Linked DNA regions of Homo sapiens: all the other regions are linked to region 5. The links are contacts of gene promoters, found by promoter capture Hi-C in blood cells and fetal thymus (Javierre and others, 2016). All regions are on one chromosome and are shown on one strand. The core of a region is centred on a gene start or on the middle of the fragment in contact, and the rest is flanking DNA. Distances in the headings are between cores, read along the strand shown.

What was found. Contacts are between HindIII fragments. The CHiCAGO score rates a contact against its expected background, and 5 or more counts as called.
Region 1: a contact is called between a fragment that was not itself captured here and the fragment with the promoter of ANGPT1 in region 5, in 1 of 17 cell types (fetal thymus). The highest score is 5.6, in fetal thymus.
Region 2: a fragment that was not itself captured here is called in contact with the fragment with the promoter of ANGPT1 in region 5 in 1 of 17 cell types (erythroblasts); the score reaches 6.7 in erythroblasts.
Region 3: the fragment with the promoter of OXR1-AS1 here is called in contact with the fragment with the promoter of ANGPT1 in region 5 in 1 of 17 cell types (monocytes); the score reaches 5.6 in monocytes.
Region 4: a fragment that was not itself captured here is called in contact with the fragment with the promoter of ANGPT1 in region 5 in 1 of 17 cell types (erythroblasts); the score reaches 5.5 in erythroblasts.
Region 6: a contact is called between a fragment that was not itself captured here and the fragment with the promoter of ANGPT1 in region 5, in 1 of 17 cell types (endothelial precursors). The highest score is 6.9, in endothelial precursors.
Region 7: a fragment that was not itself captured here is called in contact with the fragment with the promoter of ANGPT1 in region 5 in 2 of 17 cell types (erythroblasts and endothelial precursors); the score reaches 5.4 in erythroblasts.

Annotation. Positions count from the first base shown.
Region 1 is chr8:106,914,489-106,917,188 of GRCh38, forward strand. No RefSeq gene overlaps it. Among named protein-coding and RNA genes, the nearest start is that of ABRA, 150 kb to the left of the region's middle. The HindIII fragment of the contact is 4,869 bases long and covers 1-2,700 here.
Region 2 is chr8:106,933,139-106,935,890 of GRCh38, forward strand. No RefSeq gene overlaps it. Among named protein-coding and RNA genes, the nearest start is that of ABRA, 160 kb to the left of the region's middle. The HindIII fragment of the contact is 2,187 bases long and covers 212-2,398 here.
Region 3 is chr8:106,656,359-106,659,058 of GRCh38, forward strand. It overlaps OXR1-AS1 (OXR1 antisense RNA 1), which reads right to left and starts at 1,362. Exons shown (of 3, transcript XR_007061059.1): 1 at 1-1,362. All of the region lies in intron 3 of OXR1 (oxidation resistance 1), which reads left to right. RefSeq lists an enhancer at 1,253-1,462 and silencers at 1,533-1,782, 1,823-1,972. The HindIII fragment of the contact is 2,439 bases long and covers 531-2,700 here.
Region 4 is chr8:106,984,546-106,987,245 of GRCh38, forward strand. No RefSeq gene overlaps it. Among named protein-coding and RNA genes, the nearest start is that of ABRA, 220 kb to the left of the region's middle. The HindIII fragment of the contact is 2,138 bases long and covers 281-2,418 here.
Region 5 is chr8:107,496,616-107,499,315 of GRCh38, forward strand. ANGPT1 (angiopoietin 1) reads right to left here and starts at 1,303. Exons shown (of 9, transcript NM_001146.5): 1 at 647-1,303. The coding sequence starts at 943. The HindIII fragment of the contact is 4,855 bases long and covers 1-2,700 here.
Region 6 is chr8:106,845,832-106,848,531 of GRCh38, forward strand. No RefSeq gene overlaps it. Among named protein-coding and RNA genes, the nearest start is that of ABRA, 77 kb to the left of the region's middle. The HindIII fragment of the contact is 277 bases long and covers 1,171-1,447 here.
Region 7 is chr8:106,886,128-106,888,827 of GRCh38, forward strand. No RefSeq gene overlaps it. Among named protein-coding and RNA genes, the nearest start is that of ABRA, 120 kb to the left of the region's middle. The HindIII fragment of the contact is 1,021 bases long and covers 826-1,846 here.

The sequences.
Region 1 (2,700 bases), core at 21-2,520, 580 kb before region 5:
CTAGAAAGGATATATGTGAGAGACATATGTATTTATTTAGTCACAAAAAGAGCAAAATAAATGTGCCAAATCATTTGAAGATCATTTGCAAGAAATCTGCACCCTCTAATCCACCATTATCTTTCAAAATTTCATGGTTACTTTCTTGGCGTACATGGACAAATGTTTCCACTCCTTCCATAGGACACTAATTCTAACTTTGGCCTCCCATTAACTGCAAAACATCTCATGCAACATTATTCTGCAGGTTTAGCTGACTTTATTGGTTAACATCAAGAAAATCACTTAAATGTTAATAATTTGAAATGGAATTGAACTCTCTTGAACTAAATTTTTTATTAAAGCACACATGGTTTTCACATTGAAGGAACAAAATATTCCATAAAATATGTTTTAAATTTAATGAACTCAAGACTGTTAGCAATCATTTGAATCACAATGAAATCAACATGTGTGGCAAAGATTTGTCTACTCTGGTAAGCAGCAATGCATTTGTGCACCAATTTTTACTTTAAATTTTATAGAACTATAACAAAAGAGAATTTCAGCTCAGTTCTTGAAATCATGGACAAAACTTTGCAGAAAAATAAATGAGTCATATCATTCAATACCATACATACAGCTGAGTTGACTTTTATCCAAACTCATTATATATTATCATTTTAGTATTGTCCCCTGCATTTTCTTTGCCTTCTCCTCTAAGAAATATTTTCCTTATGGTAGAAATCCAATTATTTTTTCCCCTGTAATTGAAATTTTCTGTTTTCATGAGGCCAAAGCCGAGCAAATAAGATAGAAATGGAGAGTAGTGAGCAAGAAATATTTGCAGAACAGAATTATATGGGAGCTCCTTCCTTGTATGTAGGGGGCACAGGTATGAATGCATGTGCTAGAACAGGTTTTCCTCACTGAAACAAGTCTTATCACAGAATCACTATGTGAATTAATATTTTGGAAAATGAAATAATTCCTTCCCACTGATTTATAACTATAGAGATATTTAATTCTTTTCTGATCAACCTTTAACATTGTGACCACATTTTCCAACTTTGAAATTATCAATCTTGAATGTGTCCATAAGAATTGGGAAGTACAGTATAGAACCTTAAGATCCATCAGTGCTTTTGTAAAGTGAAATAAACTAATTTAATGGTAGTGATAACTCTCAGTTGCTCTCTTTTTTAAGTTGATCTTTTAATGTTTTGTCATATGCTATTTTTCTTGGCAGTGAATGTATAATGAAAAACCTGTCCATAATATGAATGATTACCCTATAATTTATCTCCTTTGGGGGTGTAGACGAATTGCAAGTTAAATATCAGGAAATGCAGGATGGATGAACACTTCTCTGGGATTGAGAATCAGCTGAGTCTAAGGAATTTTGCCAGAATAGTATAGCTCATGATGTTGGTGGGACACATGGCTCCATAAAAGTCCCACCCATCTTGTGTAAAGGAGGACTTTCACCTTTTCATGCCCTGGTTCCCATGGTGACTGGTATATTATTAGTTTTTGGCATAATAGTGGCATTGTGGCATATCATGTTAAATTATAGCTAGGGACTCAGCTGCAAATGTTTTTGCTTCCTGATTTATGGGAGATAGCATGATTGAGAGAAAAGAATTTGTAAGCAGTAATTAGAGGAGCAGAGGTAAAGAAGTGCACTGAGATATATATTTTTTTTCAGAGAAATGCAGTTAATGGAGCATGTCAATGAAAAGGATTTTCCATTTTTAGGCTGGCTGGTACGTCCCCTGTTTAATAAAATAAGACTGAAGTGTGCCTTTTACTTTCTATACAGTCTGACAAAGGTAATTTAGAATGGAGCTTTTCGATGTCTGTAGGCTGCTGCTGCCAGGATTTATATCTTCATGAACGAAACACAATTGCAGATGCCTTCTCAAGCTGATTGATAGGCAATAAAAAACTGAAACAAGAGCTCAATCTCCAAGAAACAAGAAAAAGTTGTGTGTGTTAAATGGGGCAGAGAGATATCTGCTATCCTCTTGTGATATTTGTGTCTATTTTAATGCCTATGTAGATTTGTGCTGTGGCACATGAAACCAGGTATATATTACCAATGTAACATGCTTCATTTGATTTGCAACATTTTCAGTGAACTGCATATCTCATAGTGCTCAGAGCCAACCTAAAATTTCTGACTGATTAGAATTGTCTGCATTTGTAAATCACTGAGGCTGGACCTGGAAAGAAAAGGGATTTGGCTCCTCTGGGGCCCCTGGTATACATTGTGCTTAATAGAAGAATTTTGATTCAGATCCTTGTTTGATGCTGAAATTATTCTTTTTTCTCCCCATATAAAATCTCCTGAAAATTGAAGGCAAATTCTATAAGGGGCACAATATAGATCATTGTTTATTATGCAACACATTCCTTCTTCCCTCCCTTCTTCCATTCTTAAAAATAGTTTTTGCATCTTTGCTTATCTTTACTTACCCTACAAGGATATTGCTATCTGCTGTGAAGATAGACAAAACTGAATAATTTTGATGCAATGCATCTGGACAATAATAGATAATGTTTGTTATAGAGGATTAGGTCTGTGTAAGACATCTGGAGAGATAGAGTCAGTAACTCTGTTAGGACTGGGGATGAGTCAAGGAAGACTTCACCTAAGAGCACAAGCAGAAAGAAAATTTCAGGCATGGAGAATAGATGGTAACTCAAATACATGAAAGA
Region 2 (2,752 bases), core at 55-2,554, 560 kb before region 5:
TTTCTATTGCAAAAATCCATAGATATAGTTAAATGAGACAGTTGACAAACATTATTTTGTATATATTTGTAACATAGAATTTTTTTTGTATTTTTATTTTGTATTTTTTGTTTATATTTTGTATATACAATTTTTATATATTTCTATGTGTTTGTAAGTATATACAAGGGATTAATATCAACATATAAATTTCCTCAGAGTTAAGAAAAAAAGCTTCAATAGGAAGAAAGGACAAATTATATAAATAGAAAGTACATGAAATAAAAAATATAGATAAATGGAATAGGAAATAATTTGGAAAACATGCTTAATACCACTAAGAATCAAATAAATTTAAGTTAAACAATAAGATACATTTTTCATCTATGAGACTAGCAAGGATAAAGAGTATCTTATTTGATATTTACAAGAAACAGATACTCAATTTACATTGCTAGGTAAAGAGTAAACTTTTAAAAATTGCAAGCCATGAATATTTTACTTCTAGGAATTTTTCATATGGAAATAATTAGACAAGTGCCCAAAGTTATAGGTATATGTTTTGTGTTTGCCACTGAAGAGTGGTATCAACCCCTCACCCAAAATAGTTTTGAATGTGCAGACTGATAAAGCCACACACACACAAAGATGGTATGGAAAGGCTTTTAATTTACATAACAGGACTTTCTGGGAGAGCATGGCAGAAACCCAAGCCAATCTGCAAAGGCTCCAGTGATGCGAGAGGTGAGAGGTGATGGTTCTGATTGTGGTTAGGGATTGGAGCTGGGGTGAGTGTTCCTGTGCAGGGCCAGCCACTTGTGTGGTTTGAATTTCCTGCTGGCACCAAAAGACTTTCTTATGGGCCTGCCCAGATGTGGGGCAAAAGGGGCAAGAGAAGGGGTGGGCCTTAAACGCTGTCAGTGAACAAACACCAAAACTGGAGTCAGACTCTTTATTACAATTCATTCCTGATACCTGATCAATGATGGAAATGTGCCATGTCTCATTTAATGAAATTTGAACTTAAATAGGCTATTCTGGCATCCTGTGAGGCCTGCACCCTGAGCCTGGTAAGGAATGTAAAAGTTCCATTCAAGGCTTTGGCGAATGGCCCAGTGTTTTGTATTTTGAGAAATAAAATGAATGCCTTGGTCACCATCAAAAATGACTAGAACTGAAGGGTATAAGGAATGTCTTGGTGAGGCCTTGTGTCATGCCTCAGGGCACAGAGAGATAGGTGTGACTTTGGTGTGTATTTTAGGTATCTGTGGGACAAAGAATTCCCAGAGTTCTTTCTAACGGGATAACCTCAGAGAAGGAACTGTTGCTGTTAGCATTAATTGGATCAGTTAGCCAGACCATTGTCAATAGCCCGAGAGTCTGTAAAAATGTGCAGAAAGAGCTTCCTATTGTCCAAGTCATCTTCTAGTGCTAAGGCGATTGCCTGAAGTTTGGTCAGTTGTTGTAACCCTTGGATCTCGTCTTTGATCAGGGATATCCCAGTTGGGGGATAGACAGCAAAAGCTCTCCAGGGAGCTTCAACACATGTGATATCTCTAAAGGTTATGAACACCCTTTCTGATCACTCAGTTGACTCCTGTGGGCCTCCTAAGTGGTCACTGGGTCCAAAGAGGGATGACCTTCCTCTGGTGTCATCGTACATGACAACGGAATGAGGACAGGGGAAGCTGCTTCCTCTCATAGGTGGAATATGCCAGAGGGTCCAGGTTTGGGTCTATCTGGAAGCACAATTTCCATTTTCATTAGGAGGTCATTGGCCATGCCAAGACTTCAGGGTTCTGTCCCTACAACCTGAGACATAACAATCAGCTAAGTTTGGAGAGTCATAGGCTCAGGGCTTGTGGAAGCCTTCATCTCCAGAAGGGCCTTGTATGAGGCCAGAAATTGCTGCTCCACTGCAATGTGGCATTGGGCTGGGAAGGGCAGTTTCTTGCGTCAGAAACACATGGGCAACTATGGCCACTATGGTTGGTCCAGTGGCTCTAGGAGGCCTGAGAGGAGGTTGGTAAAGCCTCTACAGGAAGGGGTCTCTGGCATACTAATGGGAGTTCCTGTTGCATAGCAATCTGGATGGATTCTAGAGACTACTGCCCCCACCTGCCCCCTCTTTTTTTGTAGAGGACCCAGTTCAAAATGGGGCAATTTGTCAGTGATGACGAATGGCCCAACTTTAATTTACTGATGATGCTGGGATTGAGACATGATTCAACCTGAGACAGATGGATAGGTCCTGGCCAAGGCATACAACCCAGATTCACTATAAAGCAGGCCTCAATTTCATACTCCTGTCCCTAAATGCTAATTATTGGAACATATGACTTAGGTAGGTTAAGTCTATAACAGACGCTCAGAGTAGGACTCTACAAGTGGATCAGAACATGGGAATGCTCAAAATACAAGCTTGACAGCAGACAGCCACACAGCTCAAAGCTTGCATGAGTCAGCAGACAACAGGTCAAAGGGCATGTTTGTAACAACAAATGATCCAGCTGGCAAGCCAAAGGCAAAAGAAGAAAGACCCAGGAAGTAGGAGTCATCATGTAGAACTTCCTGCTTGTAGCGCCAATTATACCTCTCAAAATTGGTTCAGATGCTGAGACTGATGATGCCACACATGCAGTAATGGGATAGGAAAAGTTTTTATACTCAAGCAATAGGATCATTTAAAATGGTTTGCAAAACAGAAGGAAAAATTGGCTTTGATTTTTATTGCATTTAGGGGTTGGAGCTTGGGTGAGGGTTCCTGCAGGAT
Region 3 (2,700 bases), core at 112-2,611, 840 kb before region 5:
TATCCTCCTGTGGCAGAAAGATGGAGACAGCTCTCTGGGTCCCTTTTTTATAAGGGCACTAATCGCATTCATGCGGCCTCTATGCTATGAATTACCTCCCAAAGGCCCCATCTCCTAATACCATCACATTGGGGTTAGGATTTTAACAAATGAATTTAAGGGAAAGCACAAACATTCCGTCCACTGCAACATCTACAAAATAGGTCCTTAGGAAGTGCAGAAGTCTGGAACAGTTCTTTCCCAAGCCACAACCCTGAAAACATGGATTGCTGGGTATGCAGATTCTCCTGGGTCCCTTTCCCATAAACACCGAATTAGACACTCTGAGGATGCAGCCCAGACATTCTGTATTTTTCACCAGGCATAATGGTGATGGCTGATATTAGAATGGTGAAATTTATCCCACCTAGTAAGAATCTAAACTGAAAATGGTGATGATGCAAAAAAGATCTGTCAACCAGTTAAAAAAAAAAAAAAAAAAAGAGGGTGTGTGTTTGTCAGGAGGGATAGTCTTTAGTAGTATGGCCAAAAGCTTAAGCCTGATTTTCAGGGCTCTATTGTTGGAGTGGGTAGTTCATCAACTTCCTAAGTAATTCAAATCTTTTTCCCCCCAATATATTAATATATTGGTGATTCCAAGAAAGAGGGTTTAATTTATTTAATGCCTGGGAAAACTAAAAGAACTACAAACAGATGTGAAAGGAAGAGAATAACCACATCTCACAGGAAGCAAAATTTCTGTCAAAAGTTACTGTTCTTTCCCTGTCTAGGTTCTTTGTCCCTGAAAGGTAGATCCGCAAACTAAATCCCTCAATAACGTTGCCTAAACAGGACTGGGATCATAGAATGTCCAACACTAACATGAGTTCATAATGGCACAACGAACTTAAAATGTTACTATTCATGTTTTAATTATGATTGCAGTCTTACGTTGAAGGTATCTCCGCCGTCCTTAAACATAAAAAAAAAAAAAGGAAATACAAGCTGCAAAAGTTTTATGTAATGCACTCCACCCTCTTTTTTCCCCAAGCCAACACACACCCTTCAAACTTTTTGACAGTTATTTTCAGACCCCTCCTAGGCTCCCGAACTCCATGCAACTCCAGCAGTCTCCCCTGGGCCATTTTTAGCCTCTGCTCTGACCTGGCGGGAGGCTGGGTGTCCACCCTTTCCCCTGCAGTCCTGAAAGTCCGGTCCGAGCGCGGACGGGGCGGGGAGGGGCTGGGCGGGCCAGGCCAGCTCCATTGGCGCCAGGCGGGTGGGGGAATGCGCTGAGAGGACCCGTCCAGCTTGCTTAAAAGCCATCAGTTTTCTGACCCCGCATCGGTTCCAGGAAGAATACACCTATGTGACAAGCTAAGTTCTGCCTCATTTTGCATTTAGAAGCCACAAGAAAAACTTTTCGAAAACTTTTGTCCGTCTTTTGCTCCCCCGACGCGTGGTTTCCTGATGGTCCGTCCCCGGGCAGAGAGAGGGACGCCCCCTCCTCCTCCCCGCCTCTTGTGAGGCGCGCGGAGCCGCCTCCCCTGGGTCAGGTCTGATGGGCCGGTGGGCGCGCTAGTGGTGGCCGCCACCGCCGAAACCGTCGACCTCCTGGGCCCCAGTTCCGCGTCCAGCCCCGCGGCAGCATGGACTACCTGACGACGTTCACCGAGAAGAGTGGGCGCCTTCTGCGGGGCACGGCCAACCGCCTGTTGGGGTTCGGGGGCGGCGGCGAAGCCCGGCAGGTGCGCTTCGAAGATTACCTGAGGGAGCCAGCCCAGGGGGACCTCGGGTGCGGGTCCCCGCCCCACCGGCCCCCGGCGCCGTCCAGCCCGGAGGGACCTGGTGAGCCCACCTTTCTTTCGCCTCCCGCGCGGCCGACCTGGGCTGAGGGCTGTGGGGAGGCGGCGGTCGTGGCGCCGGGCGGGGGTCGCTGCCCGGCTCTGGCAGGTGTGCCTGGGCCGGGGCGGGCAACGTGGCCGGGGTGGCGGCCGCCGGGGGCGAGGAAGGAAGGACTCGTTCGGCTCTGGGGAGGGAAGACTTTCAGCTGCGTGCCAGCTCTTCCTGCTCTGCTCTTCCTGCTTTCCTCACCTAGACTTGATTTTCTTTCCCCGCCAAGTATTTCAAGGGGACGATCCATTCTCTCTTTCCCTCCCACTGGGAGGTGAAGACTGAACCAGTTATGACGTCCGTGTTTTCAGTCTTGGATTCTTGAAGAGCGCTGTGCCTGCTTTGGTTTTGGTTTGGGTCAGTCTTTCCTTAATATTTCTCAGTTGTTAGGATTCACTTCCTAACCGAAAAATAAAAAGCCAGATACTTCTTTGTAAAATAAAACACTTCATTAACATTGGAAGCTAGTTGACATTTTGCGTCGTGTACTTTTTGAACGGCTGCACGTTGTCTTGTGGTGGCAGAACCTAGAAACTTTCTCAGTTCCTGTTTATTTTGTGTTGTGTTGGCCGATTTTTTTCACCACAGTGGCTTTGTACCATTCTTTAAAACAGTCATTTGTAGCGACATGATATTGATAACTTAAAGAATTTTTGAAAGTGCTGCTGAACAGTTTTAGCATAATGCATAGGGTAACTTCCAGTGTCCTTGGCTTCGTTTAACAGGTAGCAGACATCCTAGCCATGTCTGATTTTTATTTTTGTTAATTGCTTTAATATTTGAGGGTTATGAAAATAAATGAGCATTAGAGAGTTTAGAAAATAGAGA
Region 4 (2,700 bases), core at 100-2,599, 510 kb before region 5:
ATCTTTGAAGAAGTTAGCTTTTGAGAACTGAAATCTAAATATAATACCAACTTTTGTTATCTGTATAAGGTGAGATTCTATTTTGGTTCCTTTTTCTTGTCTACTTCCTAAGGCTAACTATTCTGATCCATTTTTTAAAAGCACTTTAAAAAATGTTTTTATTTTAATTTCTTTTTAGACATAAATGATTTAATTTTATTTCCCATAAGCCTATTTCATTAAATTTGATCCTGGAAATTTGATTTTTAAAAATATATGATGTATATGAATACAAATGCTAAGCTTGTTGTAGTTGATTTCATTTACCTTCACAAACTCGTGAAAGTGTTTCAATAGATTAATTATGCAATTATATGTCCCCATTTGAATGATACTATGTCTGAAATCAAAACAATCTGCATTCTAGACATTTAAAAATAAATGCAAAGTTATTACTATCAAAAGTAGCTGGCAGAATTGCTTATTTCCAATAGAGTTACAAGAGAAGCCTGGTTTACTTAACAGGATTCTTAGGTTATGTTCCCTAAAAGCAGAGCCTGAGACAAGGATTTAGATGCAGATTTGTTGAGGGAGTGTTCTTCAGGAAAAAAACTCTGTAAGAGAGGAAGTGAAGCAGGAGAGGGAAGGTGAATTAGAGGGGAAAGGGCAATGCCCTGTGGGTTGAGGCAGCTCCCATCAGCTGAGGACAGTTCCTGGAGAAGGGAGGGAATCATACTCATAGGAGCTGGGAGAGGGTGCACTGCCTCACAATGCAGACAGGGGTTATGGATTACATGCTATTGCAATAGACAAAAAAGACCTTCAATTGGCATAGCAGACAACAGCCATGATAGTTGCTTCCTTCTGGCTCAGTCTAACATGAACTAAATTGTCAGCAATGGCTGCAGAGTGGGTAGGTCTGGATGCTTATTTTTCTACCATGGGATTATCAAAACCATATATGGCTTGATAGGGTAGGCCTCAGAAAAAGATCAATTGGTACCTATGTTGAGCAATGAGTTATGATAAGACTAGGTTTCAAAGATGAGCTAGGACAATCAGATTTCTTAATTTGGATATTTGAAGTAGGCTATATTGGAAGCAGAAGCTGAGAAGCCATGATGACCTAATGTACAGGCTGGAGTTCTGAGGGAGGCAGATACTATGAGTTAGCAGCAACCTCGAGGTGGAAAAATGGCAAGCAGACAGCACAGAGCGAAAAGGCCAATTGTTGGAGAAACGGAGAATGGGAAACAAAGCAGAAACCTGAAGGGGAGTTGAATTACATTAGTAGAGCATTGGACCAAAGAACTACAAAGTCCTGATGGTGAAATACTTTTGTTTTTTCAAGTAGGAGGGAAGATGTCAAAGAGCATGCTCAAGAAACACTAGACTGGATTGATGTGTGATTGTTCTCTGGGGAGGGTAGATACGGTTATTTGCATGACGTAGTTTTTTCAATCACTAAAATGCATCTGGTATGCCTTAAAGTGGAATTGTTTTGTGTTGATGATAACCAGGGAATCCTGGAGGCCAGGATGCTTCTTCCAAAAGGAGAATGGTAAAGAAGGGAACTTTGAAAAAGACAGATTCAAAAGCAGAATTTTAAAGTTATAAGTAGTAGATTGTGTGATGTAAACCTATTTAATAGTGATTTTATTTTTTTATTTGCAGAAGTGTAATTTGACCATGGGGCGGAGGGAACGGTTGACATTTGGATTACACAATATTGTTTGGTAAATGCCCTGAGAGAGGTATAGAGGTGTGCAAGAATTCCAAGTGAAATCACAGGAAAGGTGCTTGCCAATCTAATTTCTACAGAAGCAAAAACCAGAGAGAGACTCACAGGATGGCCAGGGGTTGGTTTGGTGAAGAGGAGGAGAGCTCAGGTCATTGATTGGGACAATGGTGAAAAATGTTGGACTTGATTGTGTCAAGGGTCTTGCTAGCTTTGAGTCCGTGACTTTTTAATGGTGCTCTTCTTGAATGTAAGATCTTAGGAATATTAATCTCCTTTAGCAGGGGGAGAGAGAATCTTAGGAATATTAATCTCCTTTAGCAGGGGGAAAGAGAGTCTTTCCTGCCCTGGCTCAGGGTGTAGTGAGGAGAGTCATTTCTACTAGGCTATAGTGTGTCTAAACCAGTGCGTAGGGAGGGCGAGAACCCAGTTATCACAATCCATCCTGTGTCACTTGTGAGAATATCCTGTAAGTGCTATTAAACATAAAAGTTTTTAAGTTAAGAGGAGCGGTAAGCTCTCTAGAAATTGTTGTATCTTCATTAGCATTTAAATGATCAAATATTTGACCCAAGAAGCATCATGTGTACATGCCTGTGTACAAGTGTTTATTTGTGAAAACATACCCACAAACCCATTTTTATGAGGTCAAGAGAATCTTAGACACACTTGATTGTTTTTGCATTTGCTCTTTGCATTTAAGCTTTGATCAATTGATTTCCTGAATATGGCATTAAAACAGGTTTCAAGATAATGAAGACTACAAAACATATCATAAAATGAAATAATAAAACAACAAAAAAATGGGTAGATTGAGAACAATCTCATAGCATAAAGAGCCCTCATCGTATTTGGTGGTAGTATTTTTTTGTGGGCATCTAATTCTATGATTAGAGAACATTTAATATAAATTCAGCAGAAACATCTGCTGATCTCATCAGTGATTACCTAGCTATGAAATTCTTGGATTCCTCTTGAAAGCA
Region 5 (2,700 bases), core at 53-2,552:
TTCCGACAGTTAACATTACAATGTATCTTTTTAATTTTTTTTCTCAAGGACAGAAGAAAAAAATATTTAACAGAAATCAGTCTACTATTCTACCACTTGCTGAAACTAACAGTTCCCTTTACATAAATATACAATTTCTCCAACCAAATATCATATTTTATATTTACTCTCACTTCATGTTAATTTTTATAAAGGTTAAAAAAACAAATACTTTGTGATGATTTGCCACCCCAGCGGCACAAAATTTTCTGGTGCAAAATCGATTTGATCTTATTAATTAATATTGTCATTATTATTTATTTTTCACCAACTTGCTTAAGAGGTACATACTTTCTTTCTTAAGGTAGTGTTTTGACAGAGAGAACCTTAATGCTGAACTTTAGAAAAGAGAAACCAAAAATGTCATAAAATTTGCCAGGGCTAGACACACAAACGGGGTGCCCCCACACATTCATAGGTTTGGGCAAGCCCCCAAACCTTGGCTTACCCAGGAAGCCAAACCCAGACAGCCGTCTTGCAATTGCAAACACTGCCCCCCTGGAGCAAAAGGTAAATACACAAATGCTCCCCTAAGGAACTTTAAGTTAGCTGCAGTGCAAGAAAGGAAAAAGGTCCGTGCTATTAGAAACTGAAAGCAATCACTTACTTTTTGCAGCCACTGAGTATAATTTTCCATCACATGTTCCAGATGTTGAAGTTTCTGGGAAGAGAAATCCGGTTCCACGTGTGGAGCATCTCTCTGCAGAGCGTTTGTGTTGTACTGGTCTGTCGTACTCTCACGACAGTTGCCATCGTGTTCTGGAAGAATGAAAGTGTAGGCACATTGCCCATGTTGAATCCGGTTATATCTTCTCCCACTGTTTTCTGGACTTCGGCGCTGATTGCTGCACCCTATGTGAGTCAGAATGGCAGCGAGGAAAGCAAAGGAAAGGAAAACTGTCATTGTACTGCCAGCACACTCCTTCCGTGCCTCTCGCAAAACTTGCTCCTTTCTTCTGACCTCTAAAACTAGTTCTTTATTTCAGGTAAAACTGCTTGTTTGTTTGACTCTTTCCCCCTCAAAGAAAGCGTTTGAAGAAGAATCATAGAAAACTAGCCATTTGTTAGCTTTGTTCTAAAATTTTAAAATTTTTTATTTCACTGCAATGATGTTTTTCTTCGTTAAAACTTGAGATATTTATTGCATAGTAGCTGAGATTTATTGTTTCCTCTCTGTGTGACCGTTCAGCATGGAGCCTGCCTGAGTCAGCTGCGTGTACATATTCTAGACCCTTTCCTCTACCCTATCTGCTGCAGATCTGCTATTTTCTCCCAGACCTCAGTGAGTTTTATTAAGGTTGCACATCCAAGCCAAGCTGGAAGCAGGCAGCCTTTCACAAGATGACTTGACAGGAATGCATGAGTGTGCCCCTATACTAAGGATTGCTGATGGCTTAGGGCGGCGGGATCGTCTTACAAATTGGCTAGATGCGCATGACCTCGATCATGTATGGCCCTCCCGCCCCTTTCCACAGACAATTGCCTTGAGCCTTTAGCAGATTCATGGCAAATCAATAAATAGAGCAGTCCACCTTAATACACTTTTGGTGTGCATGCTGACCTACTAAAATATAGCAAACTAGCAGTATGTTTTTAAAGTTACTATTTAGTCGAGGGACCCTAAGAAGAAAATTGGCATAATGTCCAATGGAATTATTTTTGATAGAGAATGATAAACCCATATCATTATTAAATGTCTTTAAAAAACATGTATTCTTGACTCTGAGGAAAAATATGTTAAAAAACAGTTTTTACAGATGGTATTCTTTCATTGTATTCACTTAGACTTTTAGGAGTTGAAGAAAATAATCAGAGAGGATCAAATTAGCAAGAAAATTAGCATCATTTGTTGCTCAAAGCAATATGTTGCACAAAGCAATATAGTATGTGCATATTAAAGAGGGTTATCTAAGTACCTTTTGGTATAGGGTTCTTAAATGAAACTGGTGTCCTGATCAGAATGCAACCCTTCATGTTCTGTGTATATAAATTGAGCAACTTCCCTACAAAAACAATGTGGCTACAATTTAAAGCAGTGGCTTGAGAATTATTAATTCCTGTGGTATATCCTAATCCTGTATTTTACAAGGATCTCTTTGGTGGCTATGGCTGTCTTTAACACTGGTGTGGAAGTTCCACATAAAAACCTCCTGTGGCTGCACAGACATACTATGTGAGAACAAGCATATATCAGGTGTGCTAACAGCCAGCAATGGGCTGTACAGGAGACATCTCTGTGCTTCTGTGAAGGAAGAAAGAAAAATTATCAGAAGATGATTTCCCACAGGCAGCGTATAAACATTTGAACAAAGGGACCCATAAACATAAACAGGCAATAATTGTAGAATTTAGGGAACGGCTTTGAGATCTTTACTAGATGCAGAAAACCTGAATTATGAGTTGGGATTTTCATTAGGAACTGGGAGGGCTTTTAGACAACTGCAGTCATGGTGTGAAAACAGAAGCCACAGCTGTCATCTCCCATGTCTTGGAAGGAGAACAGGGCAGTGGGTGAAGGTCCGTAGTGGTTAGAGATGGGCATTTAGGGAGAAGTTAGAGGAGAGGTCAAAACAAATTCCAGAACAAATGCGATTTACTTGGGGAAAGAAACCTTGCCGAGATTCATCAGTCCTTTCCACACCAAATAACAAATTTCTGATT
Region 6 (2,700 bases), core at 59-2,558, 650 kb before region 5:
TTGAGGACTGGAGAGAGAATGGACTCGTCTACTGCCTGTTTGAGATCTTGAACAGTAGCAGCCATACCTTTTCTCCCCATACCACTGAGCTCAGTATGGGGGGAGAGAGCTGAAAATGCAAATGTAACGTATTTGAGAATCAGAAGGTCAGGGACTGCCCTGTCCTCATCTCCCATCTGACTTTCTCACTGTTCTGGAGAACTGGCGGAGTCTCAAAGAATATGCAAGAGGAAGTGTTCCTAGGCCTGCCACCAGGTGGCCATGAATAGAAGTGGGAGAGAGTGTGATATATAGTTTATCTCAGGTATCATCAGAAAACTTCGTTAGAATTCTAGTAGATCCCAAAACCCAGGGAAGAGGGAAGAAGTGGAGTCAGTTAAACTAAGGATACTATTCGGGAGAAACATGCCTCATTTGTGCCCCGGGGAGAAATGGGACAAAAATTCAGTAGCTGATACTAGTACCTCCCTGGTACTGGACTACAGAGTCAATCCAGGAACTGGATAAAGGAGAAATCCCAAAAATTTGGGAGAGAATTTTGAGCCTGGGCCTGAACTGAGTATTTGAGCTGAACTGAGAACTGATCAAGAATTGGCTAATTTTCCACCATCAGCAGAAAAGGCTATGAAGTTAGTCAACTTCCAGTATAGAGAAAAAGGCTACATTTTTGCACAGCCAAGCATGCACTTAAAACGCTTGCAGGTTCCAACAGATTTAGAATAATTTCAACCTTTATGAAATTTAAAATTCTAAGTAAGTTTGTAAACATGAGACCTGATCTCCATTTCTATATTGTTGGATTTTGTAAAATATAAAAACTTTCTAGAAAATCACTAAATCTATATAAATGATTTATATGAAATCTAGTAGAATATTGAATTCTTAAATGATCAAATATCCTGTTCAGTTATTTTTTAGTAAATTTCTGAATGTGGATAAATTTGTGTTTTGGTAAAGTTTACATTATGTTGTCTAAGTTAGGAGCTGGAAAACCTTGGTTTGTGGGCAAAATTGGTTCCGGTATCTGTTTTTGCAAATAACAAAGTTTTGCAAATAAAGTTTTATTGGAACACAGCCACTCCCATTTGTTTTACATTGTCTATGGCTCCTGTTGCAACAGAGGCCATATGTCTCACAAATCCTAAAATAATTATCTGACCCTTTACAAAAAGCTTGCCAACTCATAGACTAAGGCTTAGTCAATGCAAAACATATGTGTGGTCTTATCTTTTGAAATACTGAGTAGAGCCTATGTTATTTCTCTTAGAACAATATAAGGTCTTCACTAGGGCATGGTATTTTCCAAACATGATTCTTGAAACATTGCAAAAAAAAAAAAAAGGAATCTTTAAAGATCTTTCCCCACAAAATGGAGGTGATATTCAAGTAGAATATTAATCCTAGGACTCAAGATGACATTTGTAGGTGTATAAATGCAATGTTCTTAAGCTTGTCATAAAGATTTAAGTACCTGTAAGAGGTGCTGGAATAGAATATGACATTTTGTGAGAAAAGAGTTCCATGAAGAACCCTCCTGTGTCACTTTCACTTTTCATTCCATACTCCACCGCTCTTACTTTGCAGCATGGCTCTCACACTGACCTTCAGAACTAGTTTTCACAGAGTATTAAAGTTACATGAGGTGAAATTATGATGTACTGTTTGGTAAAACATCATCAATGCCTTCCTCTTAAATGACTCCACATTACCTTATGAAGATCAAGTCCATGTTGCAAATCCTAAACCTTAAGGCCTGATTTTATATTGATTTCCTTTTATTATCTAGTCTTATAATGTAATTATGAAAAGCATCTCCTATTCTAGTTGGATCAATTTCTTCTTGTCTCCTTTATATACAATTCTGATTTCCCTTTTCAAACTTTAGGGTATAACATACCTAAGTCAAACTACTCTTTTAAGAAATTGGGCTGAGCGTCAGAAGTTGGTCTCCAGGCGTAAGATCTGAAAGTCATCGTATCTGAGACTGAACAAGATTGGAATAATTATCAATGTTTCTAAAATAGAAATCCATATTCATTTTAGAAAAAAGCATGTTTGAAATAATCGAAATGGGAAAAACAGAACTTATCCATAACGCCTCCCCACTTCCACAGAGTTACTGATTTTTACAGTTTTTGCATATAGATCCTTTCAGAAATGTCTCTATGGACACAAATTTAGAAAACCACAAAAATTGGATGATGCCATTTGTGTTATGTAATATTATAATAAATATCTTTCTATATTGGTAAATAACAACTAGCAAATTTGGTTGCATGTTATATACCTGCCACAAAATTTGTTTAGAGTATTACTTCATTTGACCTTTAGTTGTTTCCAGGTTTTCATTATTATTCATGTTGCTGTGAAAAAACATATGTGCCTAAGTACTTGATCAAATACTTCTTTAGGCTAAATTTTGAGGGGCAGAATTACAAGATCAAAAGTTCCGAATAATGTTGAGACTTTCAGTACACCTATTGCCAAATTACCCTCTAAAATGGTTGTACTGTTTCATGTTCTCTCTTGAAGCTTATGAGAATGCCTTTTTCCCCCACACTATCATCATTACCAGAAGTTTGTCTAATCCAATGGCTTTCCAAATTATCTTGAATATAACCCAACAGTAAGAAAAGACAAGTTTTATATTGTAATTTACAACACACACACATTGTTATACACATAATAAATGTATGCACA
Region 7 (2,700 bases), core at 86-2,585, 610 kb before region 5:
AGTCTTTGCATTATAATTAGCTAAGCTCTTCTATATTAATAATATGTACTGTATCTCGATCAATATTGGAGGACATAGAAAAGTAATGTGATTTACAATTGAAATTTTTTTATAATCTAAATGTGCTAGTTTTTCATTAGCACAATTTTAACAATTACAACAAACACTTAGAAAATGCAGTAAAAATGACAGGAACCCCCAGCAATTATTTCACATGAACTTTTGTGGTAAAACCTATACATATAGCTATGTCAGTGGATCATCGCTGTCTTGTAACATTTTATGAAAATTTGAAAGAAGTAACTGACACACTTCAGCATACTGACCTTTCCTATCAGTAGCCTGGAAGTCCAGTCTAGTCATTTGATCTGGGCTTCAAAATATAACAGATGGCATCTTAATCAAACATTTTTTTCTATTTAAACTAGCAAGAATTGAAATTTTCTCAATTAATGCAAGAAAACCTTGATGTTTCTCATTTAAACTTCAGTTATTTTCACATTTTAGCATTTGCTGCATGTGATACCCCACTTCAACAAGGACCAATTTCTTTATCATTCAGGATTCTCAGTGACAAATGATAGAGGATGACCCTGGTCAACATACTTTTAAAAGAGGGGGTGAGGTTATGGGAGAATCCCTGTGGTAACCCATAGAATCAAAAGAAGAGTGGGACAATTTAGCTTTGGGGAAGCGGAGAATTAGCTGGAATTTGTGAATTTTCTCTCTAGCGTTCTGATATGTTGATGACTTGGCTCCAAAAATTTTTCATTAATTACCTAAGCCCAGCTCTACTTGCCAAAAACACCCTTTAGATTTCTCAGAAGCTTCTTCAAAACTCAATGATTCTACGTAGTCTGAAAACCCTATTCATTTTACAGTTGAGAAAACGGATCCAGAGAGGTTAAATAACTTGATTAAAGTAAATATAATAAACCTTCTTTGACACAGGTAAATAAACCTTCTTGAATGGTTCTAAGAGTAAATTAACTTTGAAAGCATTCCTAAGAGTAAATGTGATTAAAGTGACATTTTAATAGGGTACGTGTCAGCTCCTTTGTTGTATCATTGACTGTGGCACCATGGTCTTTGCGTCCTTTAAAAAATATTTTTCTCAGTCTTTCTCCTGTTTAATACCAAGATTATGTGTCAATTGTTACTTAGACTTAACCAGTAACACTGCAAATACATTTGAGAAAGACTGTTTAGATATGACAACATAGAAATGTGATTACCCAAAGGTATCCCAATACTTTTCCTCTAGTGGCTTGCTAAAACTGGATTGCTCTGAAAAAATTTGCTCTTTGGAACTTCATTCATTTATCCAGTACAGACTTATTGCACATGTGCTGTGTGTAAGGTACATAGCTATTGGGGTTGCATCAGTGAACGAAACATAAAAATAAATATAAAATATTTGCAGCTTTATGGAAATTTCATTTTAGTTTGAGAAAGCAGACAATAAATGATAAATATACAATCTAGGTAAACTATATAGTGTATTAGCTGACACTAAGCACCGTAGGGAAGAGGGTAGAAGAAGGGTTAAGAATTGGAAAGCCTGGTTGAAATTTTAAATAGAGTGGTAGGGGAAGTCCTCACTGAGAAGATGACATTTGAACAAAGACTGAAAGGAGGTAAGGAACTCTTTCATGTGAGTATCCAGAAGAACATTAGACTTGACTTTGGGTTTTCTTTGGATTTTTAAAATCAATTTTATTGAAGGATAATTTACATACAGCAAAATGCACCCATGGTAACTGTAGAGGTTGATGATTTTTGACAAATATATATTCCATGTTACTGCCATCAGCAACAAAATATAAAACATTTTCAACACCTCCAAAGCTTTCTTTATGCCCTCTCCTAATCAGTCCCTATGCTTCACCACTAGCCCCAGGTATTTACTGATTTGCTTTCTATACCTATACTTTGATTTATCTTTCTAGAATTTTAGATAAATAAAATTATATGTATTTCTTTGCATCTGTCTTCTTTTGCTTAGCATACCTTTTGGTTCATCTTTTTGTTGTGTACCTCAGCAATTCACTGCTTTTCACTGCTGTGTAATTTTCCATTGCATAAAAATATCTAGTTTGTATTTCCATTCATTTGTTAATGTACATTCAGTTTGTTCCCAGTTTTCTGCTTTTTCACTATTACATACAAAACTGCTATAAACATTTAAGACAAGATTTTGTATAGACATGTATTTTTATTTATCTTGTAGATCTTTGGGAAAACATATATTTTTAGATCATACGTAAATTTACTTTCCACTTTTAAGAAACCGTCAAACCACTCCCAAAGTGTTGGCAACATTTTACACTTCCATGATCAGGGTATATGAGTGTTCCAATAGCTCCATGTCTTGCTAACATTAGGCAATGTCAACTTTTTAAAATTTTAGTAATTCTAGTAGGTTTGTAGTGGTATCTCATTGTGGTTTTAATTGTATTTTCTTTATTTTATATATATATATATACACACACACACACACACACACACACACACCATATATCCAGGCTATACACATAGGGTATATATGTATAGTCTCTCTCGCTATATACATATATATATATATATATATATATATATATATATATATATCTCCTCTCTCTGTGTATATAGGTTATTGTTTCCTAGTCTGCAACTTGACATGTAATATAATGTAGATGACTGAGGTTTCCAAATTTAAGG